Linked DNA regions of Homo sapiens: regions 1, 3 and 4 are each linked to region 2. The links are contacts of gene promoters, found by promoter capture Hi-C in blood cells and fetal thymus (Javierre and others, 2016). All regions are on one chromosome and are shown on one strand. The core of a region is centred on a gene start or on the middle of the fragment in contact, and the rest is flanking DNA. Distances in the headings are between cores, read along the strand shown. Region 1 overlaps ELOA-AS1 (ELOA antisense RNA 1). Region 2 holds the start of HNRNPR (heterogeneous nuclear ribonucleoprotein R). Region 3 has its middle 8.1 kb from the start of RPL11. Region 4 overlaps ELOA (elongin A).

The links. Contacts are between HindIII fragments. The CHiCAGO score rates a contact against its expected background, and 5 or more counts as called.
Region 1: a contact is called between a fragment that was not itself captured here and the fragment with the promoter of HNRNPR in region 2, in 1 of 17 cell types (fetal thymus). The highest score is 7.7, in fetal thymus.
Region 3: a contact is called between a fragment that was not itself captured here and the fragment with the promoter of HNRNPR in region 2, in 1 of 17 cell types (fetal thymus). The highest score is 5.7, in fetal thymus.
Region 4: a contact is called between a fragment that was not itself captured here and the fragment with the promoter of HNRNPR in region 2, in 1 of 17 cell types (fetal thymus). The highest score is 5.5, in fetal thymus.

What each region holds. Positions count from the first base shown.
Region 1 is chr1:23,773,751-23,776,450 of GRCh38, reverse strand. All of the region lies in intron 1 of ELOA-AS1 (ELOA antisense RNA 1), which reads left to right. Among named protein-coding and RNA genes, the nearest start is that of ELOA-AS1, 3.2 kb to the left of the region's middle. The HindIII fragment of the contact is 2,586 bases long and covers 1-2,555 here.
Region 2 is chr1:23,342,901-23,345,600 of GRCh38, reverse strand. It overlaps HNRNPR (heterogeneous nuclear ribonucleoprotein R), which reads left to right and starts at 1,317. Exons shown (of 11, transcript NM_005826.5): 1 at 1,317-1,390. RefSeq lists silencers at 775-894, 1,405-1,764, 1,775-1,844 and an enhancer at 800-1,384. The HindIII fragment of the contact is 3,804 bases long and covers 1-2,700 here.
Region 3 is chr1:23,698,602-23,701,301 of GRCh38, reverse strand. No RefSeq gene overlaps it. Among named protein-coding and RNA genes, the nearest start is that of RPL11, 8.1 kb to the right of the region's middle. The HindIII fragment of the contact is 359 bases long and covers 1,175-1,533 here.
Region 4 is chr1:23,753,331-23,756,030 of GRCh38, reverse strand. ELOA (elongin A) reads right to left here. Exons shown (of 11, transcript NM_003198.3): 6 at 1,776-1,931; 7 at 1,571-1,668; 8 at 8-188. Among named protein-coding and RNA genes, the nearest start is that of ELOA, 11 kb to the right of the region's middle. The HindIII fragment of the contact is 9,647 bases long and covers 1-2,700 here.

The DNA.
Region 1 (2,700 bases), core at 13-2,512, 430 kb before region 2:
AATTATTCCTGCTTTTAGGTCACAGTTTCAGGTAAGGGACCTGGAATGTGGCAAACAGTAAATGTTTACTTGACTGATATACTTGGTAGCCTTTCTTTGGTAAGAGTGTCCTTTTGAAGAACCAACTCAGGCCTTACCCCGGAGATCTACTCATTTTGGCTTTTTCCTGTTGCCTTCATTAATGATTTATTTGAGCACTGTGTGCTAAGCACATTATGTAGTTCATCTCAATTAATTGTCACATGAACTTTAAGAGCTAGGTACAGCCAGGTGTGGTGGCTCACACCTGTAACACTTTGGGAGGCCGAGGCGGGTAGATCACTTGAGGTCAGGAGTTTGAGACCAGCCTGGCCAGCATGGTGAAACCCCGTCTCTACTAAAAATAGAAAAATTAGCCAGGCATCGTAGCGTGTGCCTGTAATCCCAGCTACTCGGGAGGCTGAGGCAGGAGAATCGCTTGAACCCAGGAGGCAGAGGTTGCAGTGAGCCGAGATTGTGCCACTGCACTCCAGCCTGAGCGACAGAGCGAGACTCCATCTCAAAAAAAAAAAAAAGAGAGCTAGGTGCTATTACCTACTGTTATCTCCAATTTGAAGATGAGGAAAACTGAGGCTGAAAGAGGCAAACTAACTTGTCTGAGACTAGGTAAAGTTAGGAGGTAACCAGGCTTTGAACACATCCTGTAGTGTTCTTGTAACACATCAGTAGTTTCCTGGTTAGGGTGGGGAGGTTGAGGCGGGAGGTGCACACAAAGTAAATATGCTGTATCAATTAGCTTATGCTGTGTAACAGATTACCCTAAAACTTTGATAGCTTTAAACAACAAACATTGATTAATTCGCATGATCCTGTGGATTAGCTTTTCTGGGCCAGTTCAGCTTGGGCTGGAAAGTTTGGGATGGTCTCACTCTCGTCTGCTTGATGCTGGCTGTTAGCTGGGATGATGGGACCACGTGTCTCCAGCAGACAAGCCTAGCTAAATTACATGGTGATAATTGCAGAGTTCCCAGGAGCAAGAGAGGGCAAGACTCAATTGCACAAGCACTTTTTTTTTTTTTTTTTTTTTTGAGATGGAGTCTTGCTCTGTCACCTAAGCTGGAGTGCAGTGGCACAATCTCCGCTCACTGCAACCTCCCCCTCCCGGGTTCAAGCGATTCTCCTGCCTCAGCCTTCCGAGTAGCTGGGATTACAGGCGCCTGCCACCACGCCTGGCTAATTTTTGTATTTTTAGTAGAGATGGGGTTTCACCATGTTGGGCAGGCTGGTCTCAAACTTCTGACCTCAGGTGATCTGCCCACCTCGGCCTCCCAAAGTGCTAGGATTACAGGCATGAGCCACTGCGCCCTGCCAGCACAAGCACTTTTTAAGCCTTACATCTATAATCTTTCTATAATGACCCATCAGCCAAATCCAAATTCTAGAGTGGAGAGCTAGACTGTAGACTTCACCTCCTGATTGGAAGAACTGCAAAATACTGTGGCTCCTCCCCTCCCAGTAGGTCTGTATTAGTTGTCTTTTGTTGTGTAACAAATTATTCCCAAACTTAATGGCTTAAAACTGTAGCAGGACAAGCTGCAGATAAAACCTGTCAGACACCAGGTTAAAGAAGGAAGAGACTTTATTCGGCCAGGAGCGTTGGCAGAGTTGTGTCTCAAGAACCAAGCTCTCCAAAGAAAAAGTTCCTGGCCCTTTTAAGGGCTTATAACTCTAAGGGGGTCCACGTGAAAGGGTTGTGATAGATTGAGCAAGTGATCTATAGGTAACACATGTGGTTAGGGTGGGGGCGTTAATCTTTAACCTCAGGCCTGGTAAGTGGCATCAGTTGGTCTTGCCACTGACTTCATTCCTGTTGTTTTTCAGCTTTTACTTCTTCCTTCTCTTCAGAGACAGTAAGAGAAATGGCCTCTCTCCTCAAAACAACAATTAACATTTATCATCTCACAGTTTCTGTGAGTTAGGAATTTGAGAGCGTCCTAGCTGGGTGGTTCTGGCTTGGGGTCTCTCATGAGCCTGAAATCATATGAAGGCTTGGCCAGGGCTGGAGAAGCCCCGGCTGGCAAGTTTGTGCAGGCTCTTGGCAGGAGGCCCCAGTTCCTTAACACATGGACCTCTCAATAGTACTGTTTGAGTGTCCTCATGATACAGCAGCTGGTTTTCAGCAGAACAAGTGATCTAAGGGCAAGGTAGAAACCACCAATGTCTTTTATGACCTAGCCACAGAAGTCCCATATTGTCAATTTTGCAACATCCCATGGTTTCACAGGTCAGCCATATTCAGTGTGTGCGGGAACTTCATAAGAGTGCAGATACCAGGAGGTAGAAATCATTAGAGGCCACCTTAGTGGCTGGCTACCATGCTGCCATACATGTTAAGTGGCACTGAAAATGGCTTTATTCTACTGTACTTAATTAGTAGTTTGGCTGTGGATAGAATTCTTTCATAATTGTGAAGAAATTGCTCTGGTTTTCTTCTGGCTTTGATAAATACAATGCTGTTCTGAATCCTGATTCTTTTTATGGGTTTTCCCCCCACCCCACCCCGTTTTCTGGAAGCTTTTAAGATCTTCTCTTGGTATTCTAGAATGTGATGATTTTTGTTGTGCTTTGGTCTCTTTTGTCATTCATTGTGCTGGATACCTGAGGGACCTTTTCAATTTAGAACCCCTAGAACAAAGTGTGAGCACACAGGTTAGGACCTCT
Region 2 (2,700 bases), core at 68-2,567:
GGAGTAGGTGGGTTTACAGGCACGTGCCACCACACCGGGCTAATTTTTGTATTTTTAGTAGAGGCAGGGTTTCACCATGTTGATCAGGCTGGTCTCGAACTTCTGACCGATACACCCGCCTCGGCCTCCCAAAGTGCTGGGATTACAGGCATGAGCTACCACGCCCCGCCCGTTTTCAATAATTAAATATAGGTTTGTAGGTTCTGAGAAATTTAATCATCCTTGAGTGCATCTGGAAATCTGCAGACCACTGCTTGACTTCCTCCACTTCCTAAGGGTGGGGCATTGGAGTTTGGGGTTGGGAAAAAAGCGCTTGCACCACAGAAGTGAGTTCGGAAGGTTTCTATGAGACGAGACAGGTTTGGACTAAGGACAGGGAACAAATCAGTAGGAATGGCAGGTGAGAAATAGGTTTAGGACTAACACGAATTATAGTGTCCTTTGGGAATTACCCCTTTCCCCTGCATGGCTCTTTTGGCTTCAGAGATGTATATAGCTGCTTTATTTTATGAATATCAAGTAGCTCCAAACCCTGTGGGGAAAAGCTCCCTGCTCTATCACTTGTGTTACACATTGCTTTTGAGTCATTTTAACGATTTCCCTCACAGTCTGCCACCAACGATGTGTGGACGGCAGCCAGGGAGGGAAAGAGGCATTTCTCCGATCGTTCCAAGGAATGATTATCTAGACAAAATCCTCAGCAAAATGACGAGCCAAATCATCCTTAAATCGTGTGCTCACTAGAGGCGAAAAGATGACCGAAAGAGGCCCGAACGCGTGGCTATGGGCGTGTCTGGGGGGAACGCCGGCCGCGGGGGTGCGAGGGAGGACTCGGGGGCTAAGGGCGGCCGGTGGCGGGACGCAAGCGCCATGGCGGAGCTGGGCCAGTGCTGACCATAGGGGGCGGGGCTCCGGAGGCGGCCACGCGGCGCGAGGCCTAGATTTTCGGCCTCGCATCGGCGGCAGACGAAGAGGGAGGAGCTTCGTCCACCCAGGACCCAGCGCCCCCAAGCCTTGCAGCCACCAAGGGCTTCCACCACAGACCCCTTTGTGTGCCTGCCCCCGCCCCGGAGGCGCCCCAGCCAGGGGCGCTGAGCACCCTCATTGGTTCAGCCGGCAGCTTCATCGATTGGCTCTCGAGTCGTCCGGCGTGGTCCGTTTTGCCTGGATACTACTGGTCGTCTGAGCTGCCTGTCAGGCCGCCTCGCCAAGCGATTGCCCCGTAGCTCGGAGTCCCTGGAAGCAGTTCCGGGAAACCCCGCGTGCTGCCGGGATCGCGTCTCAGTCCATCAGGGGGGGGAGGGGGTGGCGCGCGCGCCATTTCTAGTCGTTTTCAAAGCGCCTCGCGCTGATTCTCACGGGCCCGGCTGCCGGCCCCCGCTCTGCCCTGGTGAGTCTCGCGCCGGCCCGTGGGGGGAGGGGCCGGGAGCCCCGATGCGACCCGACTCAGCCCGGGCTCCGTGCCTGGTCCCGTTTCGTTTGCGCTCCGAGGCCCCGGGGTGGGGGTGGGGACGGGCTGGGGGCGGCTTCGGTCTAGTCCGCCCGCGCGGCTGTGGGCCTAGCCCGGCCGAAACGCTTCTCGCCCTCGCTCTTCCTCCCCCCGCCCCTTTAGCCCGCGGTCCGGCCCGCTGGGCGCTCTCCGCGCGGCCTGCTGGGGCCGGCCGTGCTTTTCCCGCCTCCGCTCGCTGCTCCATGCGGCCGGATCCCGCGAAGGGCCTGAGGCGCCCGCGGCCCTGCCGCTTCTCCCCGCCGGAGCCGCTTCGCTCCCGCCGCGGCCGGCCTAGCCCGAGAGGGATGTGCTGATGATCCGGACGGGCCTGAGGGGATGGGGGTGGGGGGCGGAAGGCGGGGTGCAGATCCCAGGGTTATCTGAGCCGGGAGAAAAGTTTTGTGTGAGCAGAAACCGAAAGGCCGATTTGTGTGGGAAGCCTCCCTCCCCTCCCACATTCTGCATGCCGCGGGCTGAGATTTGAAGGAAAAAATGACTACTAGAGGCCGTAGAACTTAGGCTCCAAGCGGCGCCTGAAATGGATAATTCTGAGACTGTCAGAGGCGCACCAAATTGGAAAGGCGATCCTTTTTCTTACACGGTAGTGGCCGTATTGCCAAATTTTTAAAAAAGCCCAGGGCTTCTTGGAAGGTTCAGTCCTTTCACACTACCTGTTTGAGATTTTTGCAGTCCTCAAGTGGCTGAATTGATGTCTCATGAGTCAGTCGTAGGATGAGAGCTCGACACTCCTAAGCCATGAGATAACCGTTAGTCTCATTTCGTTGGTTCTTTTAAAGCCCGTCTCTTAATATGAAGAATTTGCACAGAGAGGTTCAGAAAAAGTCAGGGAGGAGTTAGTGCTGACATCCCGAATCTCCCAGCAGCCCTTTTAAATCTTTAAATGTCTCCTTTTTTTTTGCAAAAATGTTTAGATCAAATGACTCCAGTCACGTTAGTATATTTGCTGCATCCAGAAATATGGTTTGGCTGTGTGGCATTGTGTTGAATGCCACATTTGAATGAGTTTCAAATGGTCTCATATGACATAAAAAGTCTTTTCAAAATGAGCATTTTGTATTTGGCTTGAAGAGAGAGGGCTTTCCTTGATCCGAAGGTTTTATTTTCTGGAATCTAATTATTTTACGGTTTTTTTGTTAAAATTTACAAACTTTTTTTGAAAATTTTAACCAATTTCAGTATCAACTTGTAGA
Region 3 (2,700 bases), core at 105-2,604, 360 kb before region 2:
GTGGGGTTTCTCCATGTTTCCCAGGCTGGTCTTGAATTCCTGCACTCAAGTGATCTGCCCACCTAGGCCTCCCAAAGTGCTGAGATCACAGGCATGAGCCACTATGCCTGGCCTGTTTTTTTTATTGAAACAAAATAGATGTACATATTTTGGAGTACATGTGATATTCTGATACATTCGTACAATGTGTAATGATCAAATCAGGGTAACTGGGATATCTGCTACCTTAAACATTTATCTTTCTTTATGCTGGTAACATTAGAATTATTCTCTATTTTATGGCATGAACCTGGGAGGCGGAGCTTGCAGTGAGCCGAGATCGCACCACTGCACTCCAGCCTGGGCGACAGAGCGATAAGATTCCGTCTCAAAAAAAAAAAAAAAAAAGAATTATTTTCTATTTTAAAATACAAATCATTAACTAGTCACCCTATTGATCTATCAAACACTGGGTCTTATTTCCTCTAACTATATTTCTACACCCATTAATCAACCTCTTCATCCCCCCAGCCTTAAATTCCAAACTCTGTGCTCTTAGCCACTATGATACGCCATGTCATGTTTGAACAGAACTGATCTTTAAAGCAAAAAATAAAGCACTGTGTTCCAGAGGCAATCATCAGAGCATTTCAGAGTTGAGTCATGTTATCAAAGCCATACGTTCAAGCAGGGTAACTGAGAGGGTCTAGAATTTCATTTGTGCCTATTGTTGAATGCCTTTGCCTTTCAAGCTCCTTTTAGATTCCAGGTTAACTACTTACATACTTATTGCATAAAAAATTGTATCAATCTTAGGCTGAGCCAGGTGGACCACGAGGTCAGGAGTTCGAGACCAGCCTGGCCAACACAGCGAAACCCTGTCTCTACTAAAAATACAAAAATTAGCTGGGCATGGTGGCGGACGCCTGTAATCCCAGCTCCTCGGGAGGCTGAGGCAAGAGAATAGCTTGAACCCGGGAGGCAGAGGCTGCAGTGAGCTGAGACTGCACCACTGCACTCCAGCCTGGGTGACAGAACTAGACTCCGTCTCAGGGAAAAAAAAAAAAAAGTATCAATCTTGACAAAAGGTAATTACAAAACTTCCTAAAATCGTTAAAGGTCAACTGGTATCATCACACATCAGTTTGGTTCACTGATTTGTGAAAATAAACCATTTATACTTGTTTCCTAAGCTTTCCTGCATTTGCCACCTTAAGCAGAGTCAAGTTCAGTTCTCCTGGTGCCCTCCAGGTATCTTAGGCTGGATTCCCCTCTGACAACCACATTGTGGTTTCCATAACAAGCAGCTCTGACTAGTTCTGTATCCCCAGGCACTAGCATGGTCCCCAGTGGCTGGCAGCTTAAACTATGTGTGGGTGGTTTCTGGGCCAGAGTACCTAGAAGGCTTGGGCCTTAACCCTGTAGCACTCAGTTGCCTTTGGTAGACTACTCATTCTGGTCTTCAACCACCAGTTGGCTGGAGCACCTCAGCATTTGCGTTGAGTTTAGCAGGTTAGGACTAGCCAGAGTGTTAAACTGCAAGAAAAGGAAGCTTAAGCACACAGTTTAGAAGATAAAGGGTTATACGCAAAAATCCAACATACTCCACTTTAGAGGGCCAGACTGTAACTTGCCAGGTTTCTTGCCCATGGTCGTAACGCTAGCAGGGAAAGCAGAACCAAAATCAGAACATGGATAACTTGCCTTGGCAACACAGTGAGACCCCTTCTCTACCAAAAAAAAAAAAAAAAAAAAAAATAGTTGGGCATGCTGGCATGCAACTGTAGTCCCAGCTACTCGGGAGATCGAGGTAGAAGGATCACTTGAGCCCAGGAGGTTGAGGCTGAAGTGAGTCGTGATGGTACCACTGCACTCCAGCACATGACAGTGCAAGACCCTGTCTCAAAAACAAATGAAGATGGATAATCTTTTTCCTGTTTAGCATTCTTTCCACAATACCACACCATTGAACAGCTCAAGACACCTTGCAAGGACCTTAAAGGTACTCACTGGACAGAGGGCAAGACAGCAGGATAAAAGAGCCTCTATTGGATAGTTTAATGAAACTGACATTCCTGACATTTAGTGCCAGCTACATAATTATGTCCCATACATTTCCAAAATGAAATATTGTATAGCCACTGCAATGTACTGAGAACGCAACTGTTAAAGGGAAAAAGTAAAAACACCTCCCAACTATGTCTAAAGGAAAAAAAAGCCTTAGCTGTGTTTACTATTTGGTGTTTCTAATAGTAAAAGAGAACCCACTGTCGCCTCAGTATTGTAATTATTGTGTATAATTTTTTATTCATTTTTTTTTTCTGAGACAGGGTCCACTCCCAGACTTTCATGGGTAGCAGCTGAAGAAACGAGAAAAATAACCACACAGTAAGAACTTCATAAGAACTAAATGTATTAAGGAAACCTCCTTGGGTATCATGCCCTTCCTGCTTTTTTTGGCCACTACCTCTACACTTTAGTATGCGTACAAATCACCCGCAGATCTCGTTAAATTAGATTCTAATTCAGTAGGTCTGAGGTAGGGCCCACGAGTTTTAACAAACTCCCAGGCGATCCTATCTACCCACTTGGTACAAGTTCAACCACAAATGACAGTGCTTTAGATACCAATAGGACATTTGTTTGCAAGTCAAGCTTCTAGCCAGAATAGGGGCTAGCTGTCTAGCTACTGGGTGGTTGTCTGTCTCTAGTGGTTGCAGT
Region 4 (2,700 bases), core at 63-2,562, 410 kb before region 2:
CTGTTACCTTTGGGCTTATTGGCATGTGCGAACTGGATATTCTTTGTTAGTACTCGTAGCCGCTGCTCTCGGGCGTCCTGAAGCCGCAGGTACATCTCTCGCCACGACTCATACTCTTCGGGTCTTTCTTCCTTAAAGTCTCGGTGACAATGAACTTTCCATAATTGATCTGTTTCTTCAATTAATACCTGAAACCAGAACCAGGACATCATTTGTGTACAAGCACTTTTCCATATTTTTTTTTTTTTTTTGAGACAGAGTCTTGCTCTGTCGTGTAGACTGCAGTGCAGTGGTGCAATTTTGGTTCACTGCAACCCTTGCCTCCTGGGTTCAAGCGATTCTCACGCCTCAGCCTCTCAAGTAGCCAGGACTACAGGTGCTTACCACCACGCCCAGCTATTTTATATTTTCAGTAGAGATGGGGTTTTGCCATGTTGTCCAGGCTGGTCTCGAACTCCTGACCTCAGATAATCCGCCCACCTTGGCCTCCCAGAGTGCTGGGATTACAGGCGTGTGTCACCATGCCCAGCCTCATATCTTTTTCTGATTATTTAATTACCTAGGAGTGACCAGTTTCCCAAAAATTTTTTGGTCTTCATCTTAGTAGTATGTTAAAATACCACAATTCTAGGAAAAAAATAACTCCCTAAATTTTAAAAATGCGAAGTGTGAGGCACTATGCTAGTTGCTTTTGGTGGCTGTGACAGAATATCACAAAAATCTGTGTAACATCAGTCTTTTCCTTTAGAAAATCAGCAAAGGGTAGAACTGCGATCAAGTCAAATCAGGTACTTCCCAACACTACGCTGAACTGTGATGGCAAAGGGGCAACCTAAGAAGGATGTTAAGTTATTGGCCAGGCGCGTTGGCTCATGCCTGTAATCCCAGCACTTCAGGAGGCCAAGAGTCTGAGAGTCCATCTCTCTAAAAAATAAAAATATTAGCCAGCTGTGGTGGTATGTGCCTGTAGTCCCAGCTACTTGGGAGGATCACTTAAGCCCAGGAGTTCAAGGATGCAGTAAGCCATGATTAGGCCTCTGTACTGCAGTCGAAGCAACAGAGGTAGACCCTATCTCCAAAAAAAAAAAAAAAGGTGTTAGGTCATAGAACTTTCAGAATTAAAGAGAGACAGCTGATGCAATCAAATGTGTATACCCTACATCCTAAGGAGGATTCTGGATAAATCTTGATGTTTCTTAAGAGACATCCAGCCAATCACCAGATGTCAGAGTGTCAACACAAAGTGCTTTCCCCGCCCTGGGTCCCAGCTACTCTGCTGCCAGAATTCTCCCTTTACCTTCATGACTAGGCAAGCTCAAGGGAGATGTTAAGTGTTTTTCTTCTCCCTTTGAATCCCACCCTGATCCTAGCCCAAGAGGCCCACTTAAGGTGCCAGGAGCAAGTGCTAATAACATGCTTGTTTAAAGGCCCAGTGGCAAACCAAATATATCCAGAACAATGCTCTGACCACTGATCTGCCCTTCAGCCACAGCGGAGTCACAGGGACAAAGCTATTTCTGGAGGTACAAGCCAGAAAACTGCCCTCTTCCCACCCAAACAGAATACTCACATGATTGTATTCCTCTATGCGATACAGCTGATCAGGTGTACACCTCTCCAAAACGGGTTCAAGAACAGAGTATGGGACTCCTCCCACTTCAAAGATTGCTGCAGAGAAACCAAAGGTGAAGACACTGAGTAGCAGCCAAGCCACCCAGTGATAAGGTCCAAGTGCTACAATGTGCTTGAGAGCTAGAGAGAAGCGTGTGACTTACAATCGATGTTGTTTTTAAGTACTCGGATGCATTGCTGGTGCAAGGTCATCATTTTAGGGAGATAGGCACACTTGGAACCAGAATACACCTGCATCTTGGAATTCATTCTGCGCCCAGTAAATCCAGCTTCTTCTTCTTCCTGGGGTGAAGAGAACGCTATAGGGCAAGAAAAACACAAAAGGCCCTAAGTGATCCAGTGAAAACTCTCCTTCTACCCCCTTCAGCCTCCTACTTCCCTTTCCCAATGGCAATCCACGCTACAGATTTTTGTAGATCCTTCCAGAGAATTTAAAAATAAGCTCCTGTAATCCCAGCACTTTAGGAGGCCAAGGCACATGAATCATCTGAGGTCAAGAGTTCGAGATCAGCCTGCCCAACATGCACCTGTAGTCCCAGCTACTCAGGAGGCTGAGGCAGAGGAATTGCTTGAACCTAGGAGGTGGAGGCTGCAGTGAGCCAAGATGGAGCTACTGCACTCCAGCCTGAGTAACACAGCAAGACTCTCAACAGCAACAACAAAAAAAAGCAAATGTATCTTATTCCTTTTAAGCCAATGAATCAATTAATAACATACTCACTACATACATTGCTTTTTTTCATTTGCCACATCTGAGAGATCATTCCATGTCAGTGCATAGACTTTCCACATTTTTTTTTTACTGTGGCATAGGATGCCACTGTGTAGATGAACCATGATTTATCTGTTAGTCTCCTGCTGATAGACCCTTATGTGGCTTCTACTTCTTTTGCTATGAAAATTAGACATTTTTTTCTTTCAGACAAAAATCCTATGTAACACATAGGATAAAGGGCTGCTAATAACAGCAGCAGCAATTTACTGAACAATTACTATGTGATAAACCCAGAGCAAAAAGGCATCACTTCTGAATTCATTAAACTGAGCCCTATGGGGCAGATACCATTA